Regions from separate parts of the Homo sapiens genome. Here region 2 is linked to region 1. Evidence: promoter capture Hi-C in 16 types of primary human blood cells and fetal thymus (Javierre and others, 2016). All regions are on one chromosome and are shown on one strand. The core of a region is centred on a gene start or on the middle of the fragment in contact, and the rest is flanking DNA. Distances in the headings are between cores, read along the strand shown.

Region 1 (5,759 bases), core at 914-3,413:
GCTCGCTAAATAACCTAAAGCAGTGCTTTCTCTCTGTGGATTCCGTTGCCTCGGCAGTTTGTGAGAGTCCTAGGCCGCCCTACAGCCTGGCATTTCGCAAACTTCCACATGCATGGGAATTCATGGGGTGCTTGTAATGCAGATTCCTAGGCCTCACTTGGGGTCCCCCGTCAGTGGGTGAGTGCACAGTGGTTCAGATACATTGCCCACACAATGCCCTAGAAAGGCAGGAAAGGAGATCCCCCCCAGTCCTTCAGGCATCTCAAGCTGATCACTTTCCTGTGTCCCACAGCCTCTGACTTTTGATTCCTCCTGCCTCTTTCCAGAGCCTGTTCCAGAGCTCTTCAGCAACTCTGGGCATTCCCTGGCCGGGTTTCATTCCCACTTCTCCCTCAACATAGCTCAGGGTATCTTGCCCGCAGGAGGTGTGGGCTCTGACTGCGATGTAACATCAGCCCCATTCATCCTGCTCTATGTGCCTACATCCCTCACTCCTCATGACAACCATGCAAGCTCAGAATTGTACCCATTTTACAGAGGAGGAAGCTGAGGCTCAAACAGCAAGCAACTTGCCCAGGGTCACTTGTCCAGTAAGTAAACAAGCCAGAATTGGACCCAGGCAGTTGAATTCAGAGCCTCCTTCTGAACCATGATGGCCTTGGGTCTTGTGTGACAAGAAGCGGGAAGGTGGAGGGTACAAGACAGAGGCCGGTGCTAGAGGACTGTTCTGTTCTGGGCTCCGGATGTGGCCAGAGTGTTTTCAGAGGAGCCCGACTCCATGCTGTCTGTACATCTTCAAGTTCCAATCCTAAGCCCCTGCCTCTACCCAGCCCTGCCTCCCATCACAAGCCTCCTGCATTCCTCTAAGTCCCCTGGCCCCACTGCTTCATCCCGCGAAGCCCTCTGCCATCTTTTCCATCCCTTACCTACTTCCATGTCCCACATTCCTGTGTGGTTGAATCCAGAGATCAGTCCTTTCCCCACCAGAGGCTGGTTGCAGCCAAGTTCATCTGGAGGGCTCGGGGCACCCCTCTGGCCAAGCCTTCAGTCACAGAACCTTCAGCTACTCTCCCTCACTCAGGCTCAACCTCCAAAAGCTCCCACAGGACTTCATCTGCTTGGACTCCAAGCTTGTGGTCAAAGTTCAGACTCGGCTCAGGGACCTCCTGGGGGAACTTCCCAACACTGGCTGTCCCTCAGGCACAAACAACTCAGAAGCCACATCTGCAGAGGGACCATTTTGTCCAATGGCCTTGCTATACAGATGGGAAAACTATGGCCCAGAGAAGGGAGGGGGCCAGCCCAAGACCACAGAGCCGGGCACTGAGAGCAGAGCTGGGGCCGGAGCTTAAGTGCCCCCGTCTCCTCTCACCAGCATCCCTTCCCATTGCTCCATGTGCAGTCAGCACCCAGCCTTCCCAGGATCTCTGCCTGCCTGCCAGAGCCTGAGCTTACATTGCCTCTTCCCCAGCTTTGTTTCTCGAAACCATTATTTGAAAACCATTTTCCTTGCCAGGAGCCCCAGGCTCTTGGAATTACAAAATCAAAGCCCCACACAATGAGGAAGAAGCACTGCCTATGTAGAAGCCAGGGAGACTGCCTGAGACTCGGGTGCCGAGGTGAAGCTTGGGCTGATAGGATGTTAACTCTGTGCACTCCCTCTGCACCTTCTTCCCCCAATTGACTACAACAACAAGGAATCCTAGAAGCCAACAGGACCATAGAACTAGAGCCGATCAGCTGGATGGATGCTTAGAGATCATTGACTCCAGCCCCTGTACAGATGGGGAAACTGAGACCCAGAGAATCTGTGTCCAGAAAGGGACAGAGCCAGTTAGCAAGACAGCAAGACCCCCAGATGCAGCATCCCCCTAGGGAAATTCCCAGAGGCCCCCACCCACGGATCCCAGGTCTGCCGTTGGTGCTTACCTTTCCTGGGGTCTGGTCCAGGTGTGGCTCCTTGGGGCCTGGAGACGGGAGCCAGCCTGTTTGGGGAGTGGTTGGGGGTGTCACTGCTTCTCAACTAATTAGACCCAGCCTCTGGTGCCCCTCGCTGCCACAGGGGCATTTTTAAGCAGCTGGCACTGAGCCCCCCTCCCCTTAGTCCCTTGCCTGCGGCTCCCTGGCCACAGAGGCCACTCTGCCTTTTACCTTATATGAGCTGAAGAGGCAAGCCCCGTATTGGGGCGAGGCGGGTGCTGAGCCCTCCCAGGGCCCCCCATTGGCCCAGGCACCCCCCACGTGACTACCTTGCCTTGACCTGCCCCCGGTGCTGAATGTTGCTTTTACCCCCTAAGGAAGGAGTGGTTGACAATTTTCATATTTCTTCTAAATTTGGAGATTTCAGACAATGCTGGGAGCCTTGGCTCCAGCCACCAGAGGCCCATGTGGAAGTCATTAAGCCTGAGAAGGGGGGCAGGGGAGAGAGGGAGGCAGGGAGAGGAGGAGGAGGAGGAGGAGGAGGAGGAGGAGGAGGAGGAGGAAGGGGGTGGGGAACAGAGTTCTGAGGGTTGCCAGTTGTCAGCCTGGGAACAAGAGCAAACTCCCTGGGAGAAAGCTGTGTGAGAATTTCCTTCCTCCCCCAGCCCCTGTGTCCCAGGACTGCAGTGGGAGTTCTGAGACTTTCTGGGAACCTCCAGTAGGGGAGACACCAGTCCTGGCTCCTGGAATCTGGGTGATGGGAATTGGGGGAACAGGAGAACATGGGGAAGGAGAGCCCAGACCGTGGGAAGCTACTCCCATCATCATGCAAACGAGGCCTGGGCCTGACAGGGAAGATCCTGACCCAGCCACCTGGCAGGGTCACCACAGGGCAGGGGTTTGAATGTGGAATGTCCTTCAGGGGGCTCTCTTTTCCCTGCCACCGCAGTCCTGAGAAATGCCCATCTCTTGCCGGAGTCCCTCTTTCTCCTTTTGCTTGGCCACCTTGGCCTCCTACAGATTCTTTAGTGTTTTTCATGCCTCAGGGCTTTTGCACTTGCATTGCTCGCTGCCAAAAATGCCTTCTTCCCAGAGCTCATGCTGCTCCTTCCCCTGCTCCTGTCTCCCACTCAGAAGTCTCCTCTGGAAGAGCCATTCCCTGGCCCCCTCAGTATTCTGTCACACCCTCTGCTTGCTTCCCGCTTCGGACTCGCCACGCATGTGCCTATCTTACATGTCCACGGTTCTAGTTTCTTGCTGGCTAGCTCTTTCATGAGAGTGTGACTTCCCCTGGCAGGCTCTGTGTCCCCAGGCTTCCTAGAGTGTCTGTGAAGAAAGGTCAGAAAACACAAATCAAGGGATCACGTGAACCAGGCCTCGGCTGCCAGCCTAGGAGTGTCGTGCTGAGGCCCATGGAGGTCTTCTCCCAGGGGCCAGCGGGGCCTGCTCCCAGGGCTGCCACCGGGTCCTGCCTTCCACTGCGCAGAGCTTCCCTTCTGCAGCCAGGCCTGCTGGACCCCAGCGGTCTCTGTTCACGGCCTCATTCACAGTTCCTCAGACCCCCAGCCTGGATGGGCCTGCCAATCCCTCTCTCCTCCTTCCAGGCCAGAGGCTGTGGTCTGCCTGTCACCGACCCTGGGACCCCCTCCAGCAGCACACGGGGCCTTGTGACATCCTGAGTGGGGCCAGTTGAGGGCCCGAGGGGGTGGGGTGCTGAATCAGACACTGTCCCTGACCTTGAGAGCCTCCCAGTCCAACAGGAGGATTAAAAATGCCATGTCCTTACCCCTCCACCCTCCCTCATTCCTTCTGAGGAAAGAATTCTGTTGGTGTTGAAAGGCCGGTGGGCTTCTTCCTGCCTTGGCCACTTCCTAGCTGTGAGGTCTGCCGCTCCCAGCCTCCCTTTCCCCCGGTGCCTCCCTTTCCCCTTGGGTAAAATGGCGAGAATCACACCTGCCTTCAGCATTGCCATGAGGGCTGGGCGAGGTGGCCCGTGCAGTCCTGGAGGAAGGTGTGAGCAGGACTCGAGTGAGACTGGGCTCAGCCCTGCCCCTCTGCTCCCAATGGTGGGGCTGGGGAAAGCCCTCTGGGAACTAACTTCTGTGAAGATCACTGTCTCCTCTGTAGCACAGAGTCAATGGTTGTGAAGGTTTAGCCCCGAGCCTGCTTCAGAGTGAGTGCTTGATCGATGTAAGCTATGACTCAGAGTTGCGGTGCGAGAGCTCTACACGGAGGTTTCGCCACTAATGTCACCCCCTTCTTTTCCAAACCAAGAAGATGAATTCCGTTCATGTGCATGCCCTGGGGTGCAGGTCAGAGATGGTGGGTTAGGGAAGGCTTGTGACACCACTCCCCAACCCTGCACAGTGGCCCAGTCGAATACTCCAAAGCACCACTGACAGACTCTAGAGGGAAGATAAAGCCGGCCTAACAGAAACATCGTGTTTATGTAAAGTCCACTCTGGAGGCTGTGAAACGTAAGTTATGCTTCTGTGAGTTCTGCTACTGTATAAACAGTAGAGAGTTCGTCATCAAGAACAAACAGAAAAACTAGCAGTGCAAGCTGTGGGGAGACCCCCACCATTGAAATGCCCAAAAACTCTGCACCTGGCCGAGTGCTTTAGTCGGCTACGCCCATGAGTCAATGGGCTTGGTCAGCAGAAAGCCCATTGCGAGAGGCAAGACAAGGAACTGAAGCGACCTGGAGACAGGTCCTTGAATATCAGGAGAGAGGTGTTCTGCCACCAGACTAGCTCAAAAGGCGAAGTATATGGCAGCCATTTGTGACTCAGTGTCCATAAATCTGTCTCAAATATTTGGAAGCTGTTTCTATTTCCTGCCCATACTGTCTCTTGGGAGTTATGAACACTTTACATTATGAACAACTCATTCTGTGAAGTGGCTTTTCTTTCCAGACTGGGAGAGGCAGCCTTGAAATCCCTCCATTCCTAGAGAAAACAGGTCGACAGACTGCGGCTTGGTATGTGTGAGTAAGGCTTCTTGGGAGGTGAAGGGAGGTTCCTGTTAGGAGCTGAGTATGAGAGTGAGTTTGCATCGTTGAGTCCTGTGTTTTCAGATGGTGTATTTAGTCAGGGGGAGGGGGACCCTGTCCAGGAGAATAGAGGACTCATGGGCCCTGGGAGAGCCGGCTCTACTTCTCTACAGAGTGACCAAGGAAGACCTTGAATTGGTACAGTTGGAACCTTTAGGAAGATGGAATCTAGATCCACATGGGAAATACTTTTTAAGCCAGTGGAACTAACCAAGGATGAAGTGGGCTAACAAGCTGTCTTGGTAAAGTGGTGAGTTCCCTGTTATTAAGGGAATGCAAGCAGAGGCTGGACAACTTGGCAAGTCCCTTCCCAGCCCTGAGATCGTATGGGCTTCACTTCACCCTTTCTGTTCTCACCTCCCAACCTGTCCCTAATCTCCAACCCTGAATTCACACTAATTCTACCCAGGAGGCTCAGCTCAGAGGTGGCCAGTTGGGAAACAATTTTATATTGAAAAGGCCCATAACCCCTGAGTTAAAAATCAAGCCCCATATGTTCTCTTCAATGAACATAAAACTTTTTTTTTGTTGGTAGAGTTGGTATGTGGGAGGTGGGAATATGGACAATTAGTGATGAAATGCCTATAATTATTTGCCTTGCAATCCAACCATTTTCTCAAAAGCATCATACCATGGAAAGCTGCCCACATGGCTAGGCGTGGTGGCTCACACCTGTAATCCCAGCACTTTGGGAGGCTGAGGCAGGAGGATCTCTTGAGCCCAGGAGTTTGAGACCATCCTGGGCAACACGGTGAAACCCCGTCTCTATAAAAAATACAAAAAATTA
Region 2 (5,759 bases), core at 2,161-4,660, 530 kb before region 1:
CTATAAAATGGGAAAGGTGGCAGTTCTATTTGGCAGGGCTGATGTGAGAGTTAATGAGATAATATATGTCAGTTGTCTGGCTCTGAGCCTAGTCATTATTACTCAGTAAATAGTAGATCTCATCATGAGATGCAACAGAGCTTGGCACTGTGAATGTTTGCAAAGGGGAAATGAGGAATCTGGGAATGAGAAGTAGTGTTGCATTGCACTTTAAAATCCAAACTCAGCCAGGTGCAGGCTGACACCTGTAACCCCAGCACTTTGGGAGGCCGAGGTGGGAGGATCACTTGAGCCCAGGTGTTCAGGACTACCCTGGGCAACACAGCAAAATCCTAGTGTTACAAAAAATACAAAAATTAGTCGGGCATGGTGGTACGCCCCTGTTGTTTCAGATTCTCTGGAGGCTGAGGTGGGAGGATGGCTTGAGCTCAGGAGGTCGAGGCTGCAGTGAGCCATGATGGCTACACTGCACTCCAGCCTGGATGGCAGAGCAAGACTCTGTCTCAAAAATAAATAAGTGAATACATAAAAATGAAATCAAAACTCTTTCCCATGGCCTCCAAAGCCCTGCTGGATCTGGCCCCTGCCTGCCTCTTTAACTTCCTTGCCCTCTGCTTTCCCTCTCCCTCTCTATGCTTTAGCTACACTGATTTTCTTTCTGTTCCTCACGAGGACCAGCCTCATTCCTACCTGCTGGCCTTTGCATGCTCCGTGCTTAGAATGTGCTTCATATACCTGGCTCCCTTGATCCTTCAGCTCTTAGCTCAGCATTACATCTTCAGAGAAGGCTCCCTACCCACCAGCCTGCCATCCCTTTCATCACTCTCTACAGCACCATCCAGTCCATTTCCTTCAAAGCAGTTTCCTCAAGTTGGAGGAAGAATGCCTAGTTGTTTACTTGCTTTTTTGTCTGTCTCGCCGTTTGAATGTAAGGTTCACCTTATATTACAACAGTAATGTTCATTGCTGTAGTTTCAGGGTCTGGAAGAGTGCCTAGCATATGGAAGACACTCTGATAATGCTAACTGAATGGATGAATCACTTTGGTCTTTCCCTAGCTCAGCCTCTGATTCTAGGATTTAAAATAAATATAAGTTGGTGCAAAAGTAATCGTGGTTCTTGCCATTACTTTTACTAGTTTGAGCTAAATGGCTTCTAAGTCTCCTTCTGCCTTTGATAATCTGAGATTCTGTGACATGGTTGTTTAGAACACTTTATATGCTGAATATATAGGGATGATAATGATCATGTAAATGCCAGTCAATTGGCAGTTGAAGTACTCATGAGGGGAGTTCCAGGACTGAGTACCCAGTGGGAATGAGCTTTCTGGTGGATTTGGTAGCATCTGCCTTGGATGCAGGTGAGGCCCAAATATTTGCTTTTCCTGAAAGAAGTGAACATTGGGAAACTGAAATGACTTCATGAAATGAATCTGAGCATACTCCACCTAGACACGTGCTCAGGAACTCATCAGTAGCTTAGAAAATGACACAGATACCACTTCTTGACTAATGCCTTTTTAGAGATTTTGCTTAATCCTCAAATGTTAATTCAAGTACAGCACTACAAGCTTCTCTTAATTCCTTTACCCTTCACCTGGTTTTAAACAGCTTCACTGATAATAATGCTGTTGACTATTTATTTAATCCCATTCCAACTAGAAGAAATCTATAGATGCAGAGCATTATGCTCTGAATTCCTTCCTTCCTTCCTTCCTTCCTTCCTTCCTTCCTTCCTTCCTTTTTTAGAGACAGGGTCTTGCTCTGTCACCCAGGGTAAAGTGCAATGGTACAATCATAGCTCACTGCAGCCTCCAACTCCTGGGCTCAAGCAATCCTCCTGCCTCAGCTTCCTGAGTAGCTGGAACTACAGGCACATGTCACCACACCTGGCTAATTTTTTTTGAGTTTTAGTAGATACAAGATATTGCTATGTTGCCCAGGCTGGTCTTGGACTACTGAACGCAAGCAATACTCCCACCTTGGCCTTCCAAAGTGCTGGGATTATAGACGTAAACCACCACGCCTGGCCCAGACTTAGTTTTAGAAAAGTTCTGTGAATTGGCTCTATGAAGTACATTTCCACTCAGAACGGCGTGAGCTGAGCATGTTTGGGCTGGCCCGCCTCCCAAGCAATGCTGACAGTCCAAAAACCTCACAGTGCTACCAATAAACAGAAAGGAGGATTCTTGTAAATTTAAGAGAACAATTCAAGCTCTGTCTTTTCATCCTGACCGCATGGTCCACCACAGCCTATAATGGCTTCTCTGGGCTGCATTAGGGGAGGTTTATGGAGGTGTGTGCTCCTCTATACACTCAGAGCTTCAAGCCAATCCCTTGTGACCTACATTACTATTATTGATTTTTCTTTGAGCTGGCCTGAACCTTGGTCACCCATATCCCCCGTGCTTAACATAAGGCCTGACACATAGTGGGGTTTCTACTAAGATTCGTAGAATGGGGATATCTACTGAACTGGTTGTGTGGTGCTAGAACTGGATTGTTTAAAAAGCTGAAAATAACAAATTCTTTTGTTCAATGACCTAGACCCAAGTCTAACCTTATCCAGGCTTCTCTAAGAGGCAGCAGAGCTGAAGGCAGGCTCTGGAGTTACACATACACACACACACACACACTCACACACACAGTCTACACAATCTACACACATGACATTAACCTTCTTGAGTTACAGATCCCCCTTCTGTAAGATGGGCTACTGATGGTACTTATCTCATAGCTTATTGCGAAGATAAAAGTAAGATAACGCAGGTAAAATGCCATGCACGCTGCCTGCTAGCAACTGTCGTTGTACTTCCTAAAGTCTTTACCCGGCTTCCTCTTAGCTGTACCCTGGGTTTTTATTCTGGGCTTAATTGTCATCACCTCAAGAAAGCCTTCTCTAACCCTCCTTCTCCAGGCAAAGTCAGTCCCCCACTCCCATCCCTGGAACCCACACTGCTTTGCACACCTCTCCTCCACAGCCCTCAGTGGATTTCATCTCAGACTTTCTTCTTCTACTGGATTTTGGAAGCTTCCATGACAGATGTCATCTCTGATTTCCCTGCCCCTGTTGAAGAGGAATAGATGGAAGCACCTTTATTCCCTTGTCAACAGGGGCTTTGGGCCGTTCCACTGTTCTTGCTCTTCATTTGCCTGTCCGTGCTTATCTCTGCCTTCCTTTAGGATGAGCATTTCTGTGACTTTGTGGACATCCTCACAGAGTACAAGACCAAGAACATCTTGGCTTCCCCCATAATGAATGGGAAGGATGTGGTGGCCATAATCATGGCTGTGAATAAAGTGGATGGATCCCACTTCACCAAGAGAGATGAAGAGGTAAGAATGCTTTAGAGACTAAGGATAGCCATGCTAGCACATTCTCCCAGCCTATGAAGTCCCCTGAACTTTGCTGTTTGACCTGGCCTCAGTTTTCCCATCTGTAAGACAGGGAATTCACCTGATGTTCTCTGAGGGAGGCAGGATAAAATAATAGTTAAGACATTGGGCTTTGGAGTCAGGAATAGAGGGATAATTGTTCTGGCTCCGCCAATAGCTGTTTGCCTTTTGCAAGTTATTTAACTTCTTTGAACTTTGGTTTTCTTATTTGTAAAATGTTGATAATTTTTCAGTATCAACCTCATAGGGAACTTATTAATAAATAGTAGCTATTTTTCATGAATACACTCCCATCAACATCAACATTCTACATTCGGTGAGTTTTATGCTCATGCAACATCTTATGAGTCTGCATTCTAGGATCCATCTGCCCAAATTGTCTCTGATGAAGCTTTGAAAATATTCAGATATTTGCTGATGGTAAAAGTAGCCAGAGGATGGATTTCTTCTTCTCACCTGCCTCCCCTCATGCTGTTTGATTTTTAGATTCTTCTCAAGTACCTCAATTTTGCAAATCTAATCATGAAGGTGTACCACCTGAGTTACCTGCACAACTGTGAAACTCGACGTGGCCAGGTAAGGGGCTTGGGCCAAGGGAATGGACTTGACTCGTCCTTTCCCTGAAGCATTGATGTGGTCAGGACTGGCAGGCAGATGGGAATGAAGGTGCCTAGGAAGCCAGTCTCTGGCCAGCATCACGAGTGTTATGAGGTAGTGGTTGTCTGTAAAGCTGTATACCACAGTGGTTATATGCACAAGCTTCAAGACAGATGGCTTTGATCTGAATCCCTGCTCAACCACTGCCTAGCTCTAAGACCCTAAGTGAGTCACTTAATCTCTCTATGCTTCAGTCTCCCCATTTGAAAAATAGGGATGATTATGGTGCCACCCTCAAAAGGTTGCCATCAATAGTAAACGAGATAATGCATATAGGGCAATAGTGCTCAATTGAAGTTTCTTATTATTTTTATTAAAAACCTATGAGATAAATGAAAGGGAAAGAGCTGGACCCAATGTAAAGCAGCCAGTTACTTCATCTCTCTGAGCCCCAGTTTGTTTGTCTACAAATGGAAGATAATTGGACTGGGCATGGTGGCTCACGCCTGTAGTTCCAGCACTTTGGGAGGCCAAGGCAGGAAGATTGCTTGAGCCCAGAAGTTCGAGACCAGCCTGGGAAACATAGTAAGACCCCATCTCTATTTTTAAAATAAAATTTTTAAAATAAATGGATGATAATGGGCTGGGTAAGGTGGCTCATGCCCATAATCCCAGCACTTTGGGAGGCTGAGGTAGGAGGATTGCTTGAGGCCAGAAGTGGAAACTCATCTCTACAAAAAATTTAAAGATTATCTGTGTGCAGTGGCGTCCACCTGTAGTCCCAGCTGCTGGGGAGGCTGAGATGGGAGAATTGCCTGAGCCCGGGAGTTGGAGACTACAGTGAGCTATGATCGTGCTACTGTACTCCAGCCTGGATGACAGAGTAAGACTCTGTCCCTAAAAAATAAATACATAAAAACAAACACTTTAGCTTTTGCGCTTCTGCCCTGGCCCTCTGCTGGCCACTCCGCCGGTGCTGTGCCTGGGCGCCTCCGTGCTCTCGGCCAACTGCCTCTGAGAGCGCCCACTTGAGCGCCCTGGGAGCCGGAGGGCGGCGGTCCTCACCGGGACCCTCCTGTGGGCGGAGGGGGACAAAAGTGTCTCTCAATCCAGCACATGCACATTGAAGCAAGTTAAAGGATTTAATATGAAGCACAGAAGCCGACAGTGCCAAACAGCAAGCAGTAGTTGGTACACATTTGGTGAGTGGGGCAGCATTTCCTTCTCCCACTGCTGCTGAGATGGCAGAAATTAGTCGAATTCGTACGAAATGGAATATACTGAAGGCATTAGTCAGCGAATGAGGGTCCCAGAAAAGTTAAAAGTAGCACCGCCAAACGCCAACCTGGAACAGGGATTCCAAAAAGGAGTTCCAAATGCTAGCGTGATAATAATGCAAGTTCCAGAGAGGATTGTTGTAGCAGGAAATAATGAGGATGTTTCATTTTCAAGACCAGCAGATCTTGACCTTATTCAGTCAACTCCCTTTAAACTCCTCGCACTAAAAACAGCACCTCGTGTACTTAGGCTAAGTGAAAGACCACTAGATTTTCTGGATTTAGAAAGACCTCCTACAACCCCTCAAAATGAAGAAATCCGTGCAGTTGGCCGACTAAAAAGAGAGCGGTCTACGAGTGAAACTGCTGTTCGCCAAAATGGACAGCTGGTCAGAAATGATTCTCTTTATGGCATTTCAAATACAGATACAACAATTGAAGGAACATCAGATGACCTGACTGTTGTAGATGCAGCTTCACTAAGACGACA

The links. Contacts are between HindIII fragments. The CHiCAGO score rates a contact against its expected background, and 5 or more counts as called.
Region 2: a fragment that was not itself captured here is called in contact with the fragment with the promoter of CARMN in region 1 in 1 of 17 cell types (M1 macrophages); the score reaches 5.6 in M1 macrophages.

The regions. Positions count from the first base shown.
Region 1 is chr5:149,403,249-149,409,007 of GRCh38, reverse strand. CARMN (cardiac mesoderm enhancer-associated non-coding RNA) reads right to left here and starts at 2,163. Exons shown (of 5, transcript NR_105060.1): 1 at 1,930-2,163. It also overlaps a transcript of IL17B not described here. RefSeq lists enhancers at 674-1,674, 3,525-4,115. The HindIII fragment of the contact is 6,163 bases long and covers 1,628-5,759 here.
Region 2 is chr5:149,932,142-149,937,900 of GRCh38, reverse strand. It overlaps PDE6A (phosphodiesterase 6A), which reads left to right. Exons shown (of 22, transcript NM_000440.3): 2 at 3,183-3,335; 3 at 3,882-3,971. It also overlaps the pseudogene MFFP2. Among named protein-coding and RNA genes, the nearest start is that of PDE6A, 9.8 kb to the left of the region's middle. The HindIII fragment of the contact is 756 bases long and covers 3,033-3,788 here.